Linked DNA regions of Homo sapiens: region 1 is linked to region 2. The links are contacts of gene promoters, found by promoter capture Hi-C in blood cells and fetal thymus (Javierre and others, 2016). All regions are on one chromosome and are shown on one strand. Each heading gives the region's core, a stretch centred on a gene start or on the middle of the fragment in contact. The rest is flanking DNA. Distances are from core to core; before and after follow the strand shown.

The links. Contacts are between HindIII fragments. The CHiCAGO score rates a contact against its expected background, and 5 or more counts as called.
Region 1: a fragment that was not itself captured here is called in contact with the fragment with the promoter of CNOT4 in region 2 in 1 of 17 cell types (megakaryocytes); the score reaches 5.4 in megakaryocytes.

Annotation. Positions count from the first base shown.
Region 1 is chr7:135,445,362-135,452,175 of GRCh38, forward strand. The region is part of intron 1 of CNOT4 (CCR4-NOT transcription complex subunit 4); the gene reads right to left. It also overlaps the pseudogene SDHDP2. Among named protein-coding and RNA genes, the nearest start is that of CNOT4, 61 kb to the right of the region's middle. The HindIII fragment of the contact is 5,706 bases long and covers 2,049-6,814 here.
Region 2 is chr7:135,506,622-135,512,980 of GRCh38, forward strand. It overlaps CNOT4 (CCR4-NOT transcription complex subunit 4), which reads right to left and starts at 3,481. Exons shown (of 12, transcript NM_001190850.2): 1 at 3,268-3,481. RefSeq lists enhancers at 2,551-3,456, 3,227-3,426, 3,457-4,361, 3,737-3,856, 4,007-4,176 and a silencer at 3,427-3,666. The HindIII fragment of the contact is 7,472 bases long and covers 1,130-6,359 here.

The DNA of each region.
Region 1 (6,814 bases), core at 3,652-6,151, 60 kb before region 2:
AGTGATTAATTTTCGAAAACTTCCCTCTCTAGTCAGTAGATACCACCTACTGATGGTTACATATACCAGGGAAATTTTAAAATTAGGAAGTGCTGATATCTCACATTATAAATTTCTAAATCCTAGGGAGAAATGCTTGGAGTGCTTCTGAATATAGAGAAGTTCCATTTAAGGGCAAGTTTCCCCTTGTAGACGTATCAAAATATTACCAATTGTAAACTTAGATTTATTTCTCAAATGTGTTCTACTTGTTCTAAAACAATCTGTCCACAAATATAAAACTATAAGTAATAAATTGTTATTTTCGCACAATGGGAATCTCTAATGTGAAAATGTATTCTATGAAAATAATTTTTTTAAATAAAATGTTGTATAATAATAAAAAAAGACTATATTCAGTCACAAAAGGAATCAAATTCTGATACATGCTACAACATGAATGAACCCTGAAAACACTATGCTTTAAGTGAAATAAGCCAGTAACAAGAGGACAAATATTTTATGTTTTCACTTTTGGTTTCTTGTTTTTGAGACACAGTCTCACTCTCTCACCCAGGCTACAGTGCAGTGAGTGGTGGGATCATAGCTCACTGCAGCCTCAAAATGCTGGGCTTTATAAAGCAAATCCTCCCACCTCAGCCACCTGAGTAGCTGGAACCACAGGTGTGCACCACCACACCCAGCTAATTTTTTAAATATCTATATAGATGGGGTCTCCCTGTGTTGCAAAGGCTGGTCTTGAACTCCGGGCTCAAGTGATCCTCCCACCTCAGGCTCCCAAAGTGCTGGGATTACAGGCATGAGCCACCATGACCAGCCTGATCTCACTTTTATGAGGTATCTAGAATAGACAAATTCAAAGATACAGAAAGTGGAATAAAGGTTACTAGGGGGCTGGGGGAGAAGAATGGGGAGTTATTACTTAATTTAACAGAGTTTCTGTTTGAGATGCTGAAAAAATTTCTGGAAACAGACAGTGGTGATAGTTAAATAACAATGTGAATGTACTTAATGCCACTGAACTGTACATTTGAAAATGGTTAAAATGGTAAATATGTTACATATATTTTGCCACAATAAAAAAGTCAAAAAAAGAAAAATATGCTGTATACACTTAACTATAGTACATAACAGTACTTTTATAAAATTTTGAAATGATTACTATATTTAATTAACCCTTTAATTTTTTGCCAATCTAATAGATGAATTTTTAATAACTTAAATATGTAGCTAGTGCAAGTCCACTGAATACAGTTACACAGAAATAATACTCCTAAGTATATACTATACAACCAAAGTTATATATACACTGTAATTATACATAATTGAAAGCTATTTATAGATATGAAATACACACACAGACACACACACACACAGACACACACACACATGCACACTTTGGTATTGTATAGCATCTTAAAAGTTTCCATAAATTCTGGAGGTGGTTCTAGCTAGAAATCAAAAAGTGAAAAAGATTAAAAAAAGAAAAAGAAAAAAAAAGTTTCCATAAAAACCATACATGCAATATATACATAAAATTATAAACTATATATTTTTATAATTAGTCTGTTCCCACTAGAATGGAAACTTCAGGACTTCACAATTAGTCTGTTCCCACTAGAATGGAAACTTCAGGAGGGCAGAAATGACCCGGTGCATCACATTTATGACGGTATACCATGCAGCTACAACATGGCTTCCAGTAAATACTAAGCATTCACACATTTGATGAATACGTAAAAGAAAGAATAAATTGTTATATGTCTGTTATAAATGACAACCTTCAAAAATAAGAAACAGCACTTTAAGTTGTCCATTGTTTCTGTATTAGACACATTTCACAAAGCATGTTATTTACATAAACTACACGAAGACAAAAAACAGACTAAAGAGTAGCTATGAACAGTGTGCTAAGTGAAAAAGTTTAAATATCAGCACTAATACTTAATTTCCCCTTTTAAATTAGGTGCCAAAGTACCAATGTATATCTACCATGAATATTCATATACTATAGAACTCAGGACTGTATTACCTTTAGGAAGCTGAAAAGCTTACTTATGTTTTAGAAATCTATCTACCTGACAACTTCTAAAAGCCTCTCTCATTAAAGGTTAAACTGCTGTTATACAAAAAAATCAACTATGTAGGGCTGCTTTCTACCTCTCTATCACTTTGCTATTTATGTAGTAAAATATTTGTATTTTACTTTTCTAAGATGTAAATCAAAAGCAGCATACAAAGCATCTCATATAATTTAACATGTCCCCAGAGATAGCTGGGAATCTCTTCCCAATGGAACTGACTTCATTTGCAAGAGTGTGACGTTCAAGCCTAAAAGCAATATCAAACCCAAGGTTGAGTGAAAGGCATTTTGGAAGAGATTCAAAATACAGGCTAAACTGTAGGCCAGCTAGTTTGCAGGTGAGAACCAGGGAATAAGACAGCTGGGATGCGCCCCTCTGGGTCTGAACAAATTGTACATGCAGTGACCTCGAGAGTCGTATGGATCTGGCTAAGAAGCAATTTATGTCCTAGAGTATTGTTAAAGACAATAGAGTAGTCAGCCAGAAATCAGTGGAGATAAAAAGCTGGGTGTGGTCAGAAAAAGAAACAGAAGAAAGCTCTGCCAAACACTGTCAGCCCAACACTGCCAGGTGCCATGTGGTCATACACAAGTCTGTGCCCCTAAGGAGCAACACCAGAGGCTTAAACACTGCAAGGGGGGAAACAGAAATCACTGAAACAGGGCAACAGAAGTCACTAAACAAATAAGCAAATAATTGTAACAAGCCCTGGAAACGAGCAGGGGGTTGAAAGATCAGTACCCAGAGTTGTTGCAATGTTATACAAGATGTTCAGTTTCCAACATAAAATTACGAGCCATGTAAAGAAATAGGAAAGTGCTGAGTGTGGTGGCTCACGCCTGTAATCCCAGCACTTTGGGAGGCCGAGATGAGTGGATCACAAGGTCAGGAGTTCGAGACCAGCCTGGCCAACATGGTGAAACTCCATCTCCACTAAAAATACAAAAAATTAGCCAGGCGTGGTGGCGGGCACCTGTAATCCCAGCTACTAGGGAGGCTGAGGCAGGAGAACTCCTTGAACCCAGGAGACAGAGGTTGCGGTGAGCAGAGAATCAGCCTGGGTGACAGAGCAACTCTGTCAAAAAAAGAAAAAAAAAGGGAGGGAGGGAGGGAGGGAAGGAAGGAAGGAAGGAAGGACCCATATACCAGAGAAAAATAAAGGCAAAGGACACTACCTGCAAGAGCAACCAGATGATGGATTTAACCAACTTCAAAATGCCATTATAAATATGTCCAAAGAACTAAAGGATACCATAATTGCAGAAGGAAGGTATAATGACAGTATCTCAGCAAATGGACAATATCGATAAAGAGACATTATTAAAAAGAACCAAATGGAAATTCTGGAGTTGAACACTGACTAGAAAAAATCACTAGAGGAGCTCAAAAGTACATTTGAACTGGCAGAAAAAAGAACTGGCAAACTTGAAGACAGATTGATAGAGATGATGCAATCCAAAGAATAGAGAGGAAAAAAAAGAGTGAAAAAAATACAAAGCCTCAGAGAAATATGAAACATCAATAAGCACATGAACATACACATAATGGGAGTAGTAAACAGACAGGAGAGAGAGGGAAAGGGAAAGAAAAACTATCTTAAGTAATGATGACTGTATAAAAATGAAGAACTACAGGTAACACAGATGAATCTCCCAAACATAATTTGAGCAAAAACAGCAAGACAAAGTATACGATGCTGGTCATATAAATTTCAACAAAGGAAACTATATTTTAGGGATGCACATAAAGGTGATAAAAGTCATGATAGTGACTACCTCTAAGGAAAGGGAGACGACTTCAAATGGCAAGGGGTGTATGGGGCAGGGGGATTCTGAGGTACGTGAAATATTCTGCTTTTGACCTCGGAAGAGTCTACAAAGACATCTACTTTATAACGAAACTGTACCTGTTTTATATGTTTCTGAATGTATATTTCCTTTTTCAAAGTTTTAAAAGAAAGAGACACTAGCTGCAAATTTCCAAGAATTGGTTAAAAGTAATCCCTAGACCCAGAAAGTACAACATACCCAAATGTGATCAATAAGCCCACATCCAGATACAAAGTAGTAAAATTGCACAACACTAAAGACAACAAGAACCATAAAGGAAGCCATAAAGAAAGAATCCTTCACCCAATGGAATAATTAGAGTAACAGCAAGTAACAGCAAGGAAGCCAGAAGGCAGTAATGTATCTTCAAGATATGAAGAGAAAATTACTGTCAACCTACAACTGAGCACCTAGGAAATAACAACCCTGAAAAAATGAGAGTAAAATTATAAAAAGACATTTCAAAGACAACTGAAAAGACTTTGACATGGACTAGGTGTTAGATGATGTTAAGGAATTACTGCTAATTTAGTTAGGAATGAGAATATTGTGGGTTTTTTTTTTTTTAACCTCTTCTCTAGGAGATACATTCTAAAGTATTGACAGACTTCATGATTGGATATTCCAGCAGGAAGGAAGGCACAGAGAGGTAAAGAGACCCCTCTTTAAACATGAAATTATAAAGTATCAATAACAGGAAACTGAGGAATGGAAATACTGGATTTCATCATAGCATTTGTTCTACTTTCATGTATGCTTAAAAAATTTTCATGACAAACAGCTAAAAATAGTCAGGCACAGTGGCCAACACGTGTAATCCCAGCTACTTGGGAAACTGAGGCAGGAGAATCGCTTAAGCCCAGGAGTTCAAGGCCAGCCTGGGCAACATAGTAAGACCCTGACTCAAAAAGAGAAATGAGGCTAAATTAAAAATTAAATAAACAAAAACTGGCAATTTACCACTAAAAGACCTCCACTAATGAAACTTCTGAAGACGTTTTTTAAGAAGGAGGAAAATAATCCAGGAGGACAGTCAGAAATTTTTTTTTCTGTTTGTTTGTTTGTGTCAGGGACTCCTCTGTCACCCAGGCTGGAGTGCAGTGGCGTGATCTCGGCTCACTGCAACCTTCGCCTCCTGGGTTCAAGCGATTCTCCTTCCTCAGCCTCCTGAGTAGCTGATATTCTGGTTAAAAGTAATCCTTAGACCCAGATTACCAGGCAGGTGCACACCACCACGCCTGGCTAATTTTTGTATTTTTGGTACAGACGGGGTTTCACCATGTTGAATAGGCTGTTCTCAAACTCCTGGCCTCAAGTGATCCACCTGCCTCAGCCTCCTAAAGTGCTGTGATTACAGGCGTGAGCCGCTGTGCCCAGCTACAGTCAGAAATTGAAGGCATGGTAAGGAAAGATGTGGTAAAAATGTGCGTAAACTGAATCACACATTTCTCTATAAAATAACAACAATGTCTGTCTAATTTGTTAGATTTAAAAAGGATAAAATGTCTATTGGGAGGGGAGTGATATAAGATAAACTGCTCTAAGGTCCAACTTAAAGAGTAACATGAATGGTCGGGAGGTCAAGGCATTAAGAATCACTTGAACCCAGGAGGCAGAGGTTGCAGTGAGCCGAGATCACGCCACTGCACTCCAGCCTAGGTGACAAAGTGAGACTGACTCAAAAAAGAAAAATAAGACCCTCCAGAAAAAGAGGGTAAAAAAAGAGTAACATGAATGGTAAAATTTCAAGGGTAATCACATAATCCTCTATGATCTACTAACCCCACCTCTGCATAACAGCCTTAGAGAAACAGTTGCACATCTGCATGAGTAGAAGCAATTGCAGGAATGTTTTGCAATAGCAAAAAATTGGGACTCCCAATGTCTATCAATAGGAAAGGCTAAGTTACTGTGTATCAGTAAAATTAAATAAAGCAGTTTTAAAGAACTAAATCTGTACATACTAACATACTGAATGAAAAGAAAACTAATTGCAGGTACTGTATAACAGTTGTGTTTTGTTTTGTCTTGTTTTTGTTCGAGAGATTCTCATTCTGTACCCCAGGCTGGAATGCATGGCATGATCTTGGCTCATTGCAGCATCCACCTCCCGAGTTCAAGCAATTCTCATCCCTCAGATTTCCTAGTAGCTGGGATTACAGGCATGCACCACCACACCTGGCTAATTTTTGTATTTTTAGTAGAAATGGGGTTTCATACATTGGACAGGGTGGTCTCGAACTCCTGGACTCAAGTGATCTGCCCGCCTCGACCTCCCAAAGTGCTGGAATTACAGGTATGAGCTACCACACCCAGCCAACTGTTTTTACACTAAAAAAGAAATCATACATGTTCTCTACATATGTATAGTATAAGCAAACCCTTAGGGGGAAAAATGACATATAAACTGCTAATAGTGACTACCTTTAGGAAAATAAAGAAGGGAATGGGAGCAATCAGAAAGCTGAACCTTATCTATGTGTTTTTGCAAAGAGACTATTTATGTATTTCTTCTATAATAGCAATTAATTTTTAAAAGGCAACTTTTTAAAGAGTATTAAACTTTGAATCCTTTGAGTGCAAAGACTGTGCCTATGTTATTCAACACTGTACCATAGACATGTGCAAGTATTATATGCTCCCAAAACTGTATATGGAGGATGGCAGAGAGACAAATAAAACAGTGATTCAGGTTGTGTGTAGTGGCTCGCAGCTGTAATCCCAGCACTTTGTGAGGCTGAGGAGGGAGGCTCACCTGATGCTAGGAGTTCAAGACCAGCCTGGGCAACATAGCGAGACCCTATCAGTACAAAAAATAGCTGGGCATGGAGGAGCACACCTGTAGTGCCAGCTACTGCGGAGGCTGAGGCAGAAGGATCGCTTGAGCCCAGGAGTTCAAGG
Region 2 (6,359 bases), core at 2,231-4,730:
GGCGGATCACGAGGTCAGGAGTTCAAGACCAGCCTGACCAACATGGTGAAACCCCGTCTCCACTAAAAATACAAAACTTAGCCGGGCATGGTGGCACACGCCTGTAATCCCAGCTACTCAAGAGACTGAGGCAGGAGAATCGCTTGAACCTGGGAGGCAGAGGTTGCAGTGAGCCAAGATCGCACCACTGCACTCCAGCCTGAGTGACAGAGCGAGACTGTCTCAAAAAAAAAAAGAAAAGAAAAGAAAAAGAAAGAAAAGAAAATTTAATATTTTTCTCATACAAAACAACAAAAAGATAAATTTATTAAACTGAAGAATATGGATTCCTTTTAAAGCCAAGATTAGGGAGGTGAAAAAAGGGAAGATTTCTAAATCCAAACTGCTTAAACTGATAAGATATTTTTTCATTCCTTTAAAGCACACAAAATCATTTTTAAAATAAGACTCCCCTAAAGCTAGGAGTTCATCCACTGGCAACACCCTTTCTTTAACAAATGAGTTGCAAGTTATCGCTAGTACTCCCATTTAGACTCAAGTTGAAGGGCATTACAAAAACAATTTTATTTTTCTGCACTTTGTCATTTGATTATAACTGTCTCATCCTAATTTTATAATAGGCCAACTTTAAGCGATTCATGTTCAAAACCTTCTTACAGAAATAATCTATTGATCTCAAGAATTCAACTACTCAACCTGGCAGAAAGTATTCCAAATTATCAAAAGAAACCATGAAAATATGAAGCTTCAGTGTTCATAACGTTAGATCAAAAAACTAAAACCAAGCAAAACTATTTAGAAATCTCAGCTCCCTATTTCCTATCAAAATGTTAAAGAACTTTAGATATCTTCTTTAAACGTACTAAAGATACAAAAGTAAATTCCTTTTGACTTCAGAGGGCTGAAATGAAGAATTCAGTAACTGCGGGCAAAAATTATGGAGGGGAAAGAATTACTTGAGAAAATATTTCGTGAGACAAATACCTTTTTTTAAAAAAAAAGATGTATTAAAATCACTTACTCCCTTCTACCAGACAAACAATCCTCTCCTAGAACTCACTGCTTACAATTCAGCCAAGTATGACTGCCAAGAGTTTCTAAACCTGTGTTAGGATTTTTAAAAGTGGAAAGCTTCTCCACCAGTGTATTACAACAAAAAGTATATTTTTTAGAGTTAAAGATCAACTATTAAATACACTCCTACTGATAAACTAAATGTAAGTGATTAAAAAAAACCCAAAACTCAACTTGTAACTTAGCACAAAGTTTGCTATATAAATTGCTTGCAGTTCTAAGAGTAGGTATTTATTTGGTCCCCCAAATTGGGGCTTAAGTGGCTGAAAGAAAAAAGTTTTATAAACAGCTTTTCTAACCTTAGTTTACATTTGGTAAAACAGACCATTTATCACAATCAAGTGAACATAATGCCAAATGTTAAGATTCCAAATTTTACAGGTAAAATTTGTAAAAATTACAATAACCCAGTAATGGACTGCCACATGAGACTGTCACTGATTTTAAACATTTTTACATATATCTTAAGAATACAATGTCATGTAAGTCATGTTTAAACTTGGGATGTATGTATTTGAACTATGTAATCTTGGTTGCTTTTCTGGTAATTCTTTATCTCACAGTGGTCTGATTATAGCCAGGGCTGCTTCTTCCCATTTTACCATTAGTCAGTACATCTTAATTTTGCTTTCACCAAAACATGGACATCATAAGCCACCTCTTGCTTCCAGTTTTCTGCTTTTTACTGTAGATAACAATGACAGTGAGTTCCACCAAATGCATGTATGTGCACAGCTTTGTCATTCTTTTCCCAGCCCCCTTCTTTTCTATGAGAAAAATACGAGGAACTTAGGTTTATATAAAAATGTCGATTTTTCTTTTGCATACATAACTAATGGATTTTCAAGACAAGACAATTTATTCTGATAACTATCATCCTAGAAATGTCAAGAGAACTTCCCAAATCCAAAAATAAGAAGAAAATCTGATATTAACTGGAGAGGAAATTTCCACTCAAATCATAAATAAAATGTCATCAATTAAGCTGAACATCAATAAAACTCAGTCAAAAATCAAGCCTCAATACAGAACCCACACATAACCCACATGTAATCAAAATATCACTTATATTTGCTAGCGGAGTTCACAGATGAATTCTGTATGTGCGCCAGATTTATCTTATTTTGTAATGCTGGGGTTAATATTTATTGGTATAAATCAGGGCCCACACTAAGTGTCCTGGGGAGAGGCAATCCAAAGAACGCTTAGTAGCATGATAAAACCGGTCCAAAACGAAAAAAAAGAAAAAAAGCCAAGTCCTAACACAACAGAGCGAATAAGCGACAAATAGATCACAGAAAGCAAAACGAAAACGGTCCTCTCCGGAGTAGCCTGAATAAAAGATCTTCACTCATAACGTTTAATAGTATCCTACCTCACTTCATTCACTTCCCAACTTCCTTTTACTTTTCAAGGGCCACCACGGGGCTTCCCTTTTTCTGGAAGTGTATATTGAAAGGATCTGTACAGGAAAGAGGGAAGGAACGGACAATTCTCAAGAAGGCTGAGAAACAGGTGGGTTAGCAGGAGGAGCATAATCTAGATACTTAAGGGGCAGCTTTAAGATGACAGATGTGGTGGAAGGAAAGACTGCAAATCGGAAGCAGCTCTAGTGTGGCAGATACACTGTGGGCTGATTGCAAGCACCAGAGGGGGGCAAAGGCTAACTCCAGAGTGGTAGCAGTGGAGCAAAAAAACAAGCAGCAGGACGAGTGGGCAATGAGCAGTGGGATTAATGAGCAGCAGCAGCCAACACGGATCAGAGTGGAAGTGATGGCTTTGGTCTTGGGAGACGGGGGCCAGAGGGAAAGGACGTCAGACAGGGAACAGGGGATTGGGGAAACAAGGAGGGCTGAGACCTAAGAATCCTGCCCCGGTGAAAATGCAGGGGGAAAAGCTGGAGACCAAAAGCCGCCTCGGCTCCCCAATTAAAGAAATTCTCGAAGGAGAGTCGCTGCTTGCCGCCGCGCTGCCTTCTGACCCGCTCCCTTTTCCTTATGGTAACTGCTGTGGCGTAAAGGGGAGAGGGAGGAAGAGGAGGAGGAGGAAGAAGACCAAGGAGGAGGAGGGTGAAGATGAGGCGGGGGGTGGGGAGAAAGGGGGGTGCGGCCTGTACAGTCCCAGCGAAGCCTCCGCTCTCTCGTAGCCGGTCAGCCCCGGGTTTCCCCTAAGCCCAGCCCCGCATAGACTCACCCGCCTGCCTTGCCTCGCTTTTCCCTCAGCCGACTCCACGGGCTGCCGCGTCCTCACAAGAAACCACCGAACGAGCGTCGGGGAAAAAACTCTTCAGAACCGGGCCTGATTGCTTCAGCGAGTCCGACCTTTACGGCTGAGAGAGAGACTCTCAGCTTTCGGTGGGTTCCACAGCCAGACGGGCCACCATCTTACATTAGGGTAAGACTCCTCCGGCCTCCCGTGCGCAGGCGCACGCTGATCCGGCCAGGAGGGGCGGGGGAGGGGCGGGAGGAGCGGCGGGCGGCTGAGTGGGAGGTTGCGGTGGCCGCTCCCGCAGCACCCTGGGAGTTGAAGTCCTCGGAGGGTAACCTCCCAGGGGCACGCCGGGAGTTGAAGTCCTCTCTCAGAGGGCGGAGGGGATCGCCCACCTCACGTGGCTGCTGGACTGATGCCTTTCTTCGTGTTTTGCTTCCTTCTCTGCACGCGTGTGCTGCTTCAATGTCATTTGGTCGGCGGTTTTCACTAGTGATTCCGTGTCCTCGGTGTTTGCGGAAATGTGCTACCCCAAGACTGGGGCGAGGCTAAACAGTTTTTCGGGGAGCCCGGAATGTTTATTCTCTGCCCCGCCCACCAGGGATATCTAAAGGGGGCGGGGTGGAGGTGGAGGCAGGTTGTGGGTACGAAGAGCGCGGGATTTGATCCAGGGTGAGAATTTGATACAGACTTGGCGTCTGTTTGCGAACAAGGAGGAAACAGGCGCCTGTTTAATTCATTTCCCTGTCCTTGCGCATTTGGGGCCACCACCCTTGATCCCTTCTTCACTGTAAAATCACCAGTGAAGACATACACTAAATTGTTCTGTGCAGATTACCCAAGAGAACGGAACACCCGTGCACTTACAATAACGTGCTTCTGTTGGTGTGAATTTGAGAATTTGCGGACCTCGGTGCAAATTAGTGTTAGTTCGGTGTCCAGCCAGCACAGCTGTGTGCAAGTTTACAAACTACACACATCGGCACATCCCCAAGAACAATAAATGCAGCCACAATCCCTACGAGCACTGAGGAATCATCAGTCACAAAAGTCAGTCAATGTACTGGTCGCCCCGTTTGCATCCCAGAACTCTGGTGGAAGTGGCGCTCGAAGCAGTAACTTTTGCTTATTGCATGTATTCTTCACCCACTCATACAGCAAATACTCAATGAGCTCCTCCTAGCTGCCGGGTACTCTTCTATATATTGAGAATACAATGGTGAGCAAAATAGAAAAAATTCCCTGTCCCTATTCTAGTGATGTGTTGGGATGAGGAAGAGGAGAGAAGAGGCATTATTTTAAAAATACGTGATTAAAATGCATAGTATGTCATAACCGATTTTAAAAACTTAAAGCAGGGAAGGGGAGTAGGGAAAGAGGTTGCAGTTTTAAATTTACGAACTTAATTTCATAATAAGCCCTCAATTCATTGTTTTTTCTTTTTTTTTTTTTTTGAGACGGAGTCTAGCTCTGTCACCCAGGCTGGAGTGCAGTGGCGCGATCTCGGCTCACTGCGACCTCCGCCTGCCGGATTCAAGTGATTCTCCTGCCTCAGCCTCCCGAGTAGCTGGGATTACAGGCACGTGCCACCACGCCAGGCTAATTTTTATATTTTTAGTAGAGACAGGGTTTCACCATGTTGGTCAGCCTGGTCTCGAACTCCTGACCTCAGGTAATCTGCCTGCCTCGGCCTCCCAAAGTACTGGGATTACAGACGTGAGCCAGGGCACCCGGCCTCATTCTTTTGGTACATTGGTTTTCTGTGTTTCAGTTTCCTCACTATAAACCTAGAGACAACAGTTACTTGGGTAAAAATTAAAATATGTAGTGAAGTCACATTTTACCCAAAGTTTGAAATTATAGAATCATGAAATGATTACCTAGCAAGGAAACTTGGGAAATTATTTGGATTTCCCTTTAGGTAATTAAATGCCTAAACATTCAATATGGTTGACATTTTTATTTAAAAATGTGTTTATTGTTCTTGTATATATTACTGATTCTATAGTAGTATATAAACAAAGTAATGAAAAGAACAAAATAAAAAGAAGCCTTCCCATTATGAAAGATTAGAATCATCACAGTAAAAACTGGAAGGGATCTTAAGCATCACCTAATCCAGTGGCAACCTTATCTTACCCAACATTCCTTTTTTTAATAAATGTTTTTATAATATGCTCTTTGTTAGCCTAAAATGAAATTCATAGGTATATAAACTACCTATATACATGATTTCATCTGAAATCAAAATGATGTGCTATTTATAATATAAATGATATGAAGAAAATATTTTATAATAAAATTGTATTTCAATATATAAATGCTCAGCATGACCATTCTAGAAATACAGTCAAGTCATGGTTTGCTAGCACTTATAAATAAAATATCCAACACTAGGGGGCAATGCCACCCCTGTATTGAGACTGACAGTAAGGAGGTGACAGTTCCTAGGTCACCAATTGTAAGAGTCACTACCATCTCAGGCCAGTACTCCTTTTACTATACTACATTGCCAGTTTTCATATGTTTATGTATGCATATGTGTATATATATACTATCATATAGACTTATGTATGTAACACTTCATTCTCATATAATTTTAAAAGTTAACATTAAATTTGGCCAGGTGTGGTGACTCATGCCTGTAATCCTAGGACTTTGGGAGGCTGGGGCGGGAGAACTGTTTGAGGCTAGAAGTTCAAGGCTAGCCTGGGCAACCTAGGGAGACTCTGTCTCTACAAAGATAAAATTTGAAAAACAGCTGGGTATGGTGGTGCCTGCCTGTGGTTCCAGCTACTTGGGAGGCTCAGGTGGGAGGATCACTTGGGCTTGGAAGTTGAGGCCGCAGTAAGCCATGATCATGTCATTGTCCTCCAGCCTGGGCAACAGAGTGAGACTCTGTCTCAAAACAAAACAAAACAAAACAAAAAACATTCAGTTGTATTACTTTGCTTACCTAATGATTCCTAAGTGTGGAACCTATCTATTCACTTAACAAATCTATTTTGCCTTTAGGCATTGTGCTCAATGCTGGTGGTATAGCAAAACAATGGTCAGCAAAACATGGTCCCTGTCCT